Linked DNA regions of Homo sapiens: region 1 is linked to region 2. Evidence: promoter capture Hi-C in 16 types of primary human blood cells and fetal thymus (Javierre and others, 2016). All regions are on one chromosome and are shown on one strand. The core of a region is centred on a gene start or on the middle of the fragment in contact, and the rest is flanking DNA. Distances in the headings are between cores, read along the strand shown. Region 1 has its middle 41 kb from the start of XKR3. Region 2 holds the start of XKR3 (XK related 3).

What was found. The method cuts DNA at HindIII sites, captures the fragments that hold promoters and counts their contacts. A CHiCAGO score of 5 or more calls a contact.
Region 1: a contact is called between a fragment that was not itself captured here and the fragment with the promoter of XKR3 in region 2, in 1 of 17 cell types (M2 macrophages). The highest score is 8.7, in M2 macrophages.

The regions. Positions count from the first base shown.
Region 1 is chr22:16,863,257-16,869,003 of GRCh38, forward strand. No RefSeq gene overlaps it. Among named protein-coding and RNA genes, the nearest start is that of XKR3, 41 kb to the left of the region's middle. The HindIII fragment of the contact is 4,686 bases long and covers 1-3,893 here.
Region 2 is chr22:16,822,963-16,828,616 of GRCh38, forward strand. It overlaps XKR3 (XK related 3), which reads right to left and starts at 2,449. Exons shown (of 4, transcript NM_001386955.1): 1 at 2,329-2,449. It also overlaps the pseudogene HSFY1P1. The HindIII fragment of the contact is 7,309 bases long and covers 1-2,986 here.

The sequences.
Region 1 (5,747 bases), core at 301-2,800, 39 kb after region 2:
TCCTTGATGAACACAGATGCAAAAATCCTTAACAAAATACTAGCAAACTGAATCTACCAGCACATCAAAAAGCTAATCCACCTTAATCAAGCAGGGTTTATCCCTGGGATAAACAAGCAAGGTTGGTTCAACATATGCAAATCAATAAATGTGACTTATCACATAAACAGAACTAAAAACAAAAACCACATGATCATCTCAATAGATACAGAAAAGACTTTTGATAAAATTCAACATCCCTTTATGTTAAAAACCCTTAATAAACTAGGTATTGAAGGAACATACCTCAAAATAATAAGAGCCATTTATGACAAACCCACAGCCAACATCACACTGAACAGGCAGAAGCTGGGTTCATTCCACTTGAGAACTGGAACAAGACAAGGATACCCACTGCCATCACTCCTATTCAACACAGTACTAGAAATCCTAGCCAGAGCAATCAGGCAAGAGAAAGAAGTTAAAGCATCCAAATAGGAAGACAGGAAGTCAAACTATCTCTGTTTGCAGATAACATGATTTTATACCTAGAAAACCCCATAGTCTCTGCCTAAAAGCTCCTAGATCTAATAAACAACTTCAGCAAAGTTTCAGGATACAACATCAAGGTACATAAATCAGCAGTATTTCTATACACCAACAATATCCAAGCTGAGTGCCAAATCAAGAATGCAATTTAATTCACAATAGACACATACACACACAAAAATACCAAGGAATAAAGGGAACCAGGGAGGTGAAAGATCTCTACAACAAGAAAACAATAATTACAAAGCACTGCTGAAAGAAATCAGAGCTGACCCAAACAAATGGAAAAACATTCCATGCTCAAGAATAGGAAGAATCAATATTGTTAAAATTGCCATATACTATCAAAAGCAATCCCCAGATTCAGTGTTATTCCTATCAAACTACCAATGTCATTTTTCACAGAATTAGAAAAAAAAACCTATTCTAAAATTTATAAAGAACTCAGAAAGAGCACAAATCACCAAAGCAATCCTAAGCAAAAAGAACAAAGCAGGAGGCATCACACTACCTCACTTCAAACTATACTATAAGGCTACAGTAACCAAAACAGCATGGTGTTTGTACAAAAACAGACACATAGACCATTAGAACAGGATAAAGAACCCAGAAATAAAGCCACACATCTACAGCTAACTGATCTTTGACAAAGGTGACAAAAATAAGCAATAGGAAAAGGACTTCCTATTCAATAAATGATTCTAGGATAACTGGCTATGTAGATGCCAGAATGAAACTGGACCCCTACTTATCACCATATACAAAAAGTAACTCAAGAGGGATTAAAGACTTAAATGTAAGACCTCGAACTATAAAAACTCCCGGCACTTTGGGAGACCAAGGCAGGTGGATCGCCTGAGCTCAGGAGTTCAAGACCAGCCTGGGCAACATGGTGAAACTCCGTGTTTACCAAAAAAAATACGAAGAATTAGCTGGGCGTTGTGGCACATGTGCCTGTGGTCCCAGCTATTCAGAAGGCTGAGGTGGGAAGATTGTTTGAGCCTGGGAGGTGGAGATTGCAGTGAGTCAAAATCTCACCACTGCACTCCAGCCTAAGGGACAGAATGAGACCCCACTCAAAAAAGAAAAAAAAATTCTGGAACTAGAGAGTGTTAAGAATGTCCTAAATGTCAGTGAATGATACACTTTAAAGAGCTTAATCTTACATAAATTTTTCCTCAATTTAGAAACTTTTTCAAATTCTTGAAAAAAAAAACTATGCAACATTTAAATATATACATAAACATAAATATATACTATAAACATTTATAGCATACATATGTAATCTCTCTGCCATTTTGGGCTACCTTACAAATAAGGCAGAAGCAAACACATAAAAATTAAATATACATATATATATACATATACACACACACATAAATATGCATATTTATAAATTTAGAAATAGAGAACATAGCTGACTATTCAAGGAAATATATATTTATGAGCATATAAATATATAGGTAACATACATAAATATATTTAATATAGAAATTTACACATATGTATGTAGCACTCTGCCACTCTGGCATACTTCGCTCATACAGGTGTCCTAAAGCAGCCTCCATACTTATTTTAAGTTTGGCCTAATGAGTTCTGTATACATAGCTAGTTGTAACCTAACTTAATGTGTAAAAATAACTGTAACTTAACCCAAGACTATAGTCTTATAACATGTAACTATGTCTTAGCCAATGAAAACAGCTGAGCCTTCAGCCAATCAGAGGCTGAAAGCTGCCAAAACATGACTATATGAGGTAAATGCCAACAGCAGCCAATCAGGCTGTTTCTGTGCACTTCTTTTTCTCTAGCTGTAAATGTAACCTGCACAAATGGTGGCATGGAGTGTTCTGAGCCATTTTTGGTGCAAACTGCTGCCTGATTCCTAAACGGTTTCTTTGCTCAAATAAACTCTGCTAAATTTAGCATATGTAAAGGTTTTTTTTAACAGATTAGTGTAGGAAATGCAATCTGAAGTAGAACGTCCATCAAACCCCAGAAGCATGGAGTGCCCAAGCACAGCGACCCACCAGGTCCATTGTGCACACAGATCTCTCACAGCAGCAGGGGTCCTGGGCAAGTTCTCTCTCAAATTTTGAAGCTCCAAGGATTTGTGTTTTGAGCTATGCATTTGTTTACCTTTGTAAGGGTTTTTATTTTTATTTTTTTATCCAGACTGGGTTTCGAAGTTGATTCTGAAATAATAAATAAAAGCTAAGTTTCATTTATTTATTTTATTTTATTTATTTAGTTTAAAGTAAATTTGTTGTAATTTTGTCTTTTGAGAGTTCTGGCAAGCTGGATGGGATCCACCTCCCAAGACCCCTTGAGGAATTCAGGAAAGACACTGCTGGCCCCTTTGCCCTCCTTCTGAGGTTGTACATTCCTCTTAGGCCAGACTCTGCTGTTTTTGCATTGAACCTTGATCCTTTTGGGTTTCGAATCCAGGGTTTTGTGCTATGAGAGGGCAAATAACCTTGGGGTGGGTGCCAGTGGCCAGTTTGTGCTGTGAGATGACATATGGCCTTTTGAGGTTTGGGTAGCTGATGAGTCATTGGTAAAAACTTGACTCAGTCCAGCATCAAATTGGATTTGATTGGTGAACTGTATTGGATCGACGTAAGAGGTCACTCAGTCTGATGATCAGATGGCAACTGGACTGGGTTCAGTAGATAGATAAGTTTGGCCTCCCTAAAGATAACCTAGAATTACAGTGGTGACAGTGGGGAAACACTTACAAAGGTAAACAGGTGCATGTCCTCCCAGTTACAACAACTGCAGGGATTGGGAGTACTTCTACTTGTGCATGCAAACTAAACACCCCTGTGCCCTAAGATGTCTGCCTTTTTTGCAAATAGCCAGGCCACTGGAAAAAGAATAGTCCACTTTTACAGCAGCCATCTCACGGGTCATCCCTTTGGCCTGGACTCTTTCCCCCCTAAGGGAAGCCCCCAAAGGCGTCGCTCTTGGGACAACTATGAACTAATCTAATTAGCCCTCCCTGTTCTTTCTCTCTCTCTCTCTTTGATCCTGCTTCTCCCATGGGAACCCCTCAGTTGACTGAAACCACTCTTTTCAAACGCTTGCTGCCACTTCTTTCTTATTGTCATGAACTTTGCTATGTCCCCAAAGTCTTACTAAGGGAAAATAAGCCTTTCTGACTTAATTTCCTGGTTGAGAAGAGAAGGGTGGCCAGTAGCCAGGCTAGTGATAGAATTAATTAAATATGCTACCGAATTGATTAATTCCTACAGTGTTAAAAGAGAAGCACTAACAACGCCAGTGACCATGTAACACGGATTTAAGCTACAAGTCATAGAACTGTGATGAGAAGCCTCAGCGCTGTAAAACAGAGGGTGGAGGAAAGCTTTTCCTCTCTCAAATGAGCTTTGCCGGGTATACTTCTTGAAGAATAGGAAGTTGAAGTGTTCAGGACTTTTATGTCTATTCTACTTTGGCTTAGTTTACATAATTCTTAGTTTATTAGCCTAGAAATGGCCAAGAAAACTTAAGGCTCAATAATTAGTTATAAATATGAAATATCCCCAATTTTTCAGATAAAAACAACTTATAAATGTATTTGTCTGTAAAAATTGTCTATATTTTTACAGAACATCTATTTCTTTCTTTTTTAAATTTTTATATATATATTTTTTTTTATTATACTTTAAGTTCTAGGGTACACATGCACAATGTGCAGGTTTGTTGCATATGTATACATGTGCCATGTTGGTGTTCTGCACCCATTAACTCATCATTCATATTAGGCATATCTCCAAAATCGATCGCTCCCCCCTCCCCCCACCCCACAACTGGCCCCGGTGTGTGATGTTCCTCTTCCTGAGTCCAAGTGTTCTCATTGTTCAATTCCCACCTACGAGTGAGAACATGTGGTGTTTGGTTTTTTGTCCTTGCGGTAGTTTGCTGAGAATGATGGTTTCCAGCTTCATCCATGTCCCTACAAAGGACATGAACTCATCATTTTTTATGGATGCATAGTATTCCATGGTGTATATGTGCCACATTTTCTTCATCCAGTCTATCATTTTTGGACATTTGGGTTGGTTCCAAGTCTTTGCTATTGTGAATAGTGCCACAATAAACATACGTGTGCATGTGTCTTTATAGCAGCATGATTTATAGTCCTTTGGGTATATACCCAGTAGTGGGATGGCTGGGTCAAATGGTATTTCTAGTTCTAGATCCCTGAGGAATCGCCACACTGACTTCCACAATGGTTGAACTAGTTTACAGTCCCACCAACAGTGTGAAAGTGTTCCTATTTCTCCACATCCTCTCCAGCACCTGTTGTTTCCTGACTTTTTAATGATCGCCATTCTAACTGGTGTGAGATGGTATCTCATTGTGGTTTTGATTTGCATTTCTCTGATGGGTCTATTTCTTTAAAACAAAGGGAGGGGAGTCTCTCATTTACATTAGTTTTTTTCATAGCCTTTTGGACTTTGCAATTTCTATGTTTTGGAACCTATTTCTTACAGTTTTTCTATGCTAAACTCTGTCCTGGTCAGTTCCAGAGTGTATGAAGAACCAAATGGTGTAATTGTATGCCACCTGGCTGTAGTGGAACAAGTTTGACTCTTAAGTATGCAGGCTCTAATTTTCCTGTCTGGTTTCGGTAAGTATTCCTTACATAGGTTTTTTCTTTGAAAATCTGGGTTTGAGAGGTTGATGAATGAAAATTAATCCTTTCACTTTGTTGTATATAGGTTTGCAATAATTAGGTCAGAGTGGAGTTTTAAGGTCACGAAGGGGGCTGATGACTTACAACTAATGGGCTCTGATTGGGCAACTACTCATCTGAGTTCCTTCCATTTGACCTAATTAAGCTTGTGAAATATACACTAAGCCATGAGCTCATCTTTAAAAAGTTTTATTAAAAGATTTTCAGCTGTTCCAAATGGGACTTATTAGTGGAATGTGTTTTAAAGGATCATATCAGATGAATGAAAGGTATTTGATCCTTTCTTTCCTTAATAATAAAATGATGGTTTGGAAAAATAGGCTACAGTCTAACCACAGTGCTATTATTAGGCTTTCTTGTTAAACATAGGTCTAAGCCTAAGTATGTCAATACAACCAATACTTACTGTTTCATTTCTAGTAATGAAAAAAAAAAGAAGTCTTTCTGGCATAAGGATGATTTTCATCTGGTTATTTTGAAACATTTTTGTAAAATAAGTTTACATCTATAAAGAACA
Region 2 (5,654 bases), core at 1,199-3,698:
AGCCTCAACCTCCAGGACTCAAATGATCCTCCTGCCTTAGCCTCCCAAGTAGCTGGGACCACAGGTGCATGCCACCATGTACACTAATTTTTGTGTTTTTTGAGGAGATGGGGTTTGACCATCTTCCTGGTCTCAAACTCATGAGCTAAAGTGATCCACCTGCCTCAGCCTTCCAGTGTTGGGATTACAAGCATGAGCTACCACACTGCCAGAATCCTGTCATTTCCTTGAATTGCAAAATTAAAACCTCATAAGCTACAGTTTCCACATCTGTACAATGATAACATCATTAGAATCTTCCTGGGGAGATAGCAGTGTAGAGAAAATAATACATCGGCAGCAGGAAGAAGAGTTCGTGGTACACAGTGAAGTTTGGAAAGGTGTTCCTATTGACATCATTATAATCATGACCACCATCATCATTTCTTAGAAACACAGAATTGACAGGACTCACTGATTAAGAGTATTTGACAGTGAAATATGAGAGAAGAGATTGCCTTGGTCAATTCTTGAGTATCCATCTGGTAGAGCTTGGAAAAGTGGTGGAAGCAGAATTTTTGGGAAAAACATTTAAAATAAACTTAAACACCTTACTTTTGATCTGCGTGATGTACAGAACTGGTGATGAACAGGGCAACCTTGTCACTTTAAAATATATCTGATTGCCAATTTGCAGCATCACAAGACTAGTAAACATTTACTGTGAAACATTCAGAAAATACAAATTACCAAAAGAATAGAGTTTACCTATTGCTTAGTTTTCTCCAGCAATGGAGAGATCAATAATAATAAATCTGACACCAATTCAAAATATGAAACTTTAGGGTACTCAAGTACTAAAAGGTTTTTTTTTTTTAATGTAAACAAACTCACAGGTAACAGTGTCCAAAGTAGAACATTAGAAATGAGAGATTCTTGATGTAACAACAGGTCCAGGTGATGATAATTCAAGGCTGCTGAAACAAGTGAATGAAATCTTGAAGGGATCTTAATGATGAGAACTAATTCTTGCTTGTTGGAGTGATGAGACAAATGGTCCAAAAATTAAAAAACAAAACAAAACAACAACAACAACAAAATAATTTGTTGCTTGCAAATAGGCCCTAGAAGCAATATGAAACAGTCTTCAAATGAATAGATGAGAAAAATCGCATCTGACCTAATTAATTCAATGTCACAAAAAGAGAGACAATGTGTTATTTAAAGGGATGAGACAGAAAAAACACTCTTGTAAATAAAGAGAGAAGAGTACAATGAAGTACCCATTTCCACCTACGAGGAACGGGCATGTAAGAAAATACGGGAATCATGTGCAGATGATATAATTACTTATCTAGAGGCACCATAAAAATGTTTTTCCCCAAATAATGTCCATTAGGGATAAAATTTTAAGAAAGAAAGGATGTTACTTTTAAAGACAATTGTTAAATACCTAGTAAATAGAGTAAGTGAGTAAGAAAAGCAGAAAGAAAATAAGTTGCAGCTACCAGATACCCACAAAAAGAAAGAAAAGGGAAAAAGAAGGAATGGAGGGAGAGAGCACAAATGGAAAGAAAAAGGGTGGGAAGGAGGAGGGAGAGTAGAGAGAGAAATTACAGAAGTAGGCGAGGGGTATAAAGGAAAGCATGGAAAGACAACTGCAGAGACATCAGAGTTTCTGGGCCTCAGGATAGGGGAAAAATACATCCAACATTATAAGAAATATATCCCACTCTCTCCCCAGCAATCCATACATCGAATATGATATTAATGCAGATTGCACCTTTCTGGCTGCCCCAACCACTTCCTTCTCCTTTGGACTCACAGAAGGACCTCTATAATTTATTTCTGGAAAACACTTATGAAAATATGCACATATGAAAAGGGCCACAGAGTTTAGAAATGGGTCTTCCAGAGTCTAAAATTCAAGGTAGAAAGTGAAAGTGAAGTCACTGAACAATGGAATTTAGGCATGTGTTTGTGATTAAGTGAACTTGTTTCTTGTACTCACATAGCCAGTGCATCACTGCATCTGAATAACAAAAAATATGGTAGATTTCTGCCCCTTTGAGATTTCACTTAAATACGAAGCACTTTCTCCTTCTGATGTTTAAAAACATGCTGAAATTTGTAATATATTAGTAACAACCACTGTCCCACCCAAATGCTAAGCAGCTGCTTCTCTTCTCTGAAAATCAGAATCAAGAGAGGGAGTTTCTAGGCTCAAGACTCGGGAAAAGCCACCCCTGATATCCAGAGATTTATGTTAAGATCCCCAGCTGAGACAGGCAGAGGTCAAGGTAGGCTGAAGAAGCTGATCTGAGATGGTCGAGGGCTGCTCCTACTTACCTTGCCTATTTGCCACCCTCACAGTTTTGAAACTCGTTCAAAAAGTAAATGCTTTTGTTCACCTCTTTAACAGCACCATTTCTGGTCTCGTTTTCAACACTACGTCCTTTGCTTTGCAGGTAAAATTGCTTATTTTCTTGCCTTTTTATGACTAAAGTAGGCTTGCAGTTTGGAGTCAGGTGACTGCACTAGCTGAGTCATCTTCCCTTGAAAACACCAAGGCATTCTTCCTCCCTACAGAGTCACACATCTTAGTTCCCCAAAACGCTCAGCCACAATTTGACTTCGATTGTCCTACATTTAAGGTGATATTTTTCTGATTCTCCCATTAACTCCCTCTTCTCTTCGCACCCATGGCCCATCTTTTGCTGCTGTCTAGTAGCCATTCATCCCCTCCCATCACAAAAGAAGTCTGTACTTCCTTCAGACAGAGCAACAAGAAAATTCCCCAGAAAGCAAACAATTAAACAAATTTTAATTTTGCCTTTTTTAAATGAAAATTCTGTCAAAATTGATGAACCACATCTGGTAGGAGCACCTGTTTTATTTTCACAAAGAGTTTTCTGATCTGGACATTTTTGTTACTTACTGCTAATATGGAAAATTTTGAACTAAACAAAATACACCCCCAAAACTTAAACTATGTTAAACCAAGACAAGCTTCTAACAATGACACCTCTTTCCAGTATGAGAGAACTGCCTCCTACAGTATAAGAAATATCAAAATCATTATTTTTTTATTCCACACATATTCAACACTTAAAGCCAAGGCATTAGAATTTTAATATACCACCTCTCAAGCATGAACATATAAAAATTCTTACTGTAAATGGGGCATGATTATTTTTCAAAGAGAAGAAATATTTTATTCAATTCTAAGATTAATTCACAAATTTGACTCCTGTTTTATAATGATAACTTTACGTTGCAGGACACAGAGATTATTCCTTAAGAAATATTTTTTAAATAGATATTTGGCTCTTGGAACCAAATAATAAAATTTTCTGCTTAGACATACATACAAATTTACTTTACTTAAAACACTTTCTTGTTATTATTACATTTTTAAATCTCCCACTCTTTGGGATCTCCTTATAAGTAGGTCACTTGCTTTTAAAATCTTACATAATTAACATGTCAGATATTTACAGACATACCAAATGAAAGTATTATTTATTCTATGATATGAATAAAAAATGTTTTGAATAGATACATACATGAATAACTTTTTATTCTGAAATCTAATCAGTTTTATTCATATTTGATTTTATTTTAATTTTTTAAGGTATGTTTCACATAATACAAAATTACATTATTCAAAATTATATTATTAAAACATTTCTATCATCAAACAGGAAACCCCATTATCTACTTAACAGTTCTTTCTATTCCCCAGCCCCTGACAACCATTAACCTACCTTTTGTCTATATGGCCATGTCTTTTTACCATATATGTTTTACACTGCATCAGTTTTCAATCCAACATGCCAAGCTGAGAGAGTTTTTAAAATATTTATTTTTATTTTTTTGCACCGTCCAATTACCAGGCCCTATGCTCCTCGCACCAATCTAGTAAGACTGTGTGTGTCAAGGAGAAAATTATGTTTATTTCAGGGATTGAGGATATTAATTAATTTATTTATTTATTTATTTATTTATTTATTTATTATTTTCTTAAGACAGAGTCTTGCTCTGTTGCCCAGGCTGGAGTGCAGTGGCACAATCTCAGCTCACTGCAGCTTCCGCCTCCTGGGTTCAAACGATTCTTCTGCCTCAGCCTCCCGAGACCTGGGACTACAGGCACATGGACCACACCTGGCTAATTTTTGTATTTTTAGTAGAGACAGGGTGTCACCATGGTGGTCAGGCTGGTCTCGAACTCATGACCTCATGATCCGCCTGTCCCGGCCTCCCAAAGCGCTGGGATTGCAGGCATGAGCCACCATGCCTGGCCCTCCTTATTAATTTAAAAGATTCTGCAGGCATGAAACTTTTGCAGAATAAACTGTGTAAGTAATCATTCTATATTTTATTTTTACCAGATACATTTCTGAGACTGGAAAGTAAACAGTCTTGGCCAAATTTTTATGTTTGTTGCTAGGTGACCAAAGTCCTCTTGTGATGCCATTGCTACTCAGGTTGGAAACCACTGTGGTGATCTCAATTACTTTACCTGAGTAGACTACTGAAGCAGCATTTGAAGCTGCAGTCTTGAAACACATGCAGGCTGGAAAAGTCGCTAAAGAATTACTTATTTGAGATGGCACATGTTTCTGCAGAAACTCAAGATGTTTCTCCTAAAGATGAATCAACTGGTTCAAAAGCCTCCTCTGGGTCTCCATTGTGTGAACACATAATCCCTGGGGATTCAGACTTAAGGTCAATGACTGAATCAATGATTTTCAGGTTTTGCCACAAGGATCCTTGATAAAAAGGCCACATTATACTTTATGTCTCTGAGCCAGATAAAGATAATGATTTTCCTTCTCTGACCTTTCCCAGTAAACTTTGGAAAATAGCTGAAAGTGACCAATTCAAGTCTAATTCATAGGATAAGAATGAAACTTGCATAGTGACTAATGAAGAACTCTTCAAGAAAGAAAATTTGGAAATAAAGGCTCCTTACAGAATATTTCAAACTGACAGTATGAAAATCTTAATTTGACAGCTCAACCTTTATGGATTTAGTAAAATTCAACAGAATTTTCACAGATCTGCTTTTCTAGCCAACTTTCTGGCAGAAGAAAAAGAAATTTCTGTTTTAAGCAAGGTATTCAAAATATTTCAGTTACCACTTTGAGTATATATGTAATTTCATTTTATATATCAGTAACTATGTTAATACATGCAGTAAGATCAGATTTTAAAAATTATATCAAATATTAAGGTAAAAATTACTTAATTTTTTTGAAATTATTGAGTGCAGGTTGAGCATTAAACTTTCAGGTTTTAAGAAATGTTGCTAACAACATTCAGTCTTACCAGTGAACTCCAAATAAAGATACCAAAGCCACTTAGTGAAATGTTACTATTAAATGTATAACATGTTTTCACCAGAGGGCTTCAAAACTTGAGTGTTTTTTTTTCTCAACAAGCATGTTCTTAAAAATAGTAAACAATGTTCATTCATTATTTGATGATATTAACTTTGTGTGATAAAACAGAAATCTGAGATTGTATGGGTTATGTTTGTTATTGTTACTTGCCTCTTGGTTTAAAATGGCACTGAATTACCTTCTCCTTGGTTTTAGTTAAAGTTGTATTATCATCCGAATTTCAAACGTGGCTGTCCCCAACTTTTAATAAGAACGAAAAGAAGAATTAAG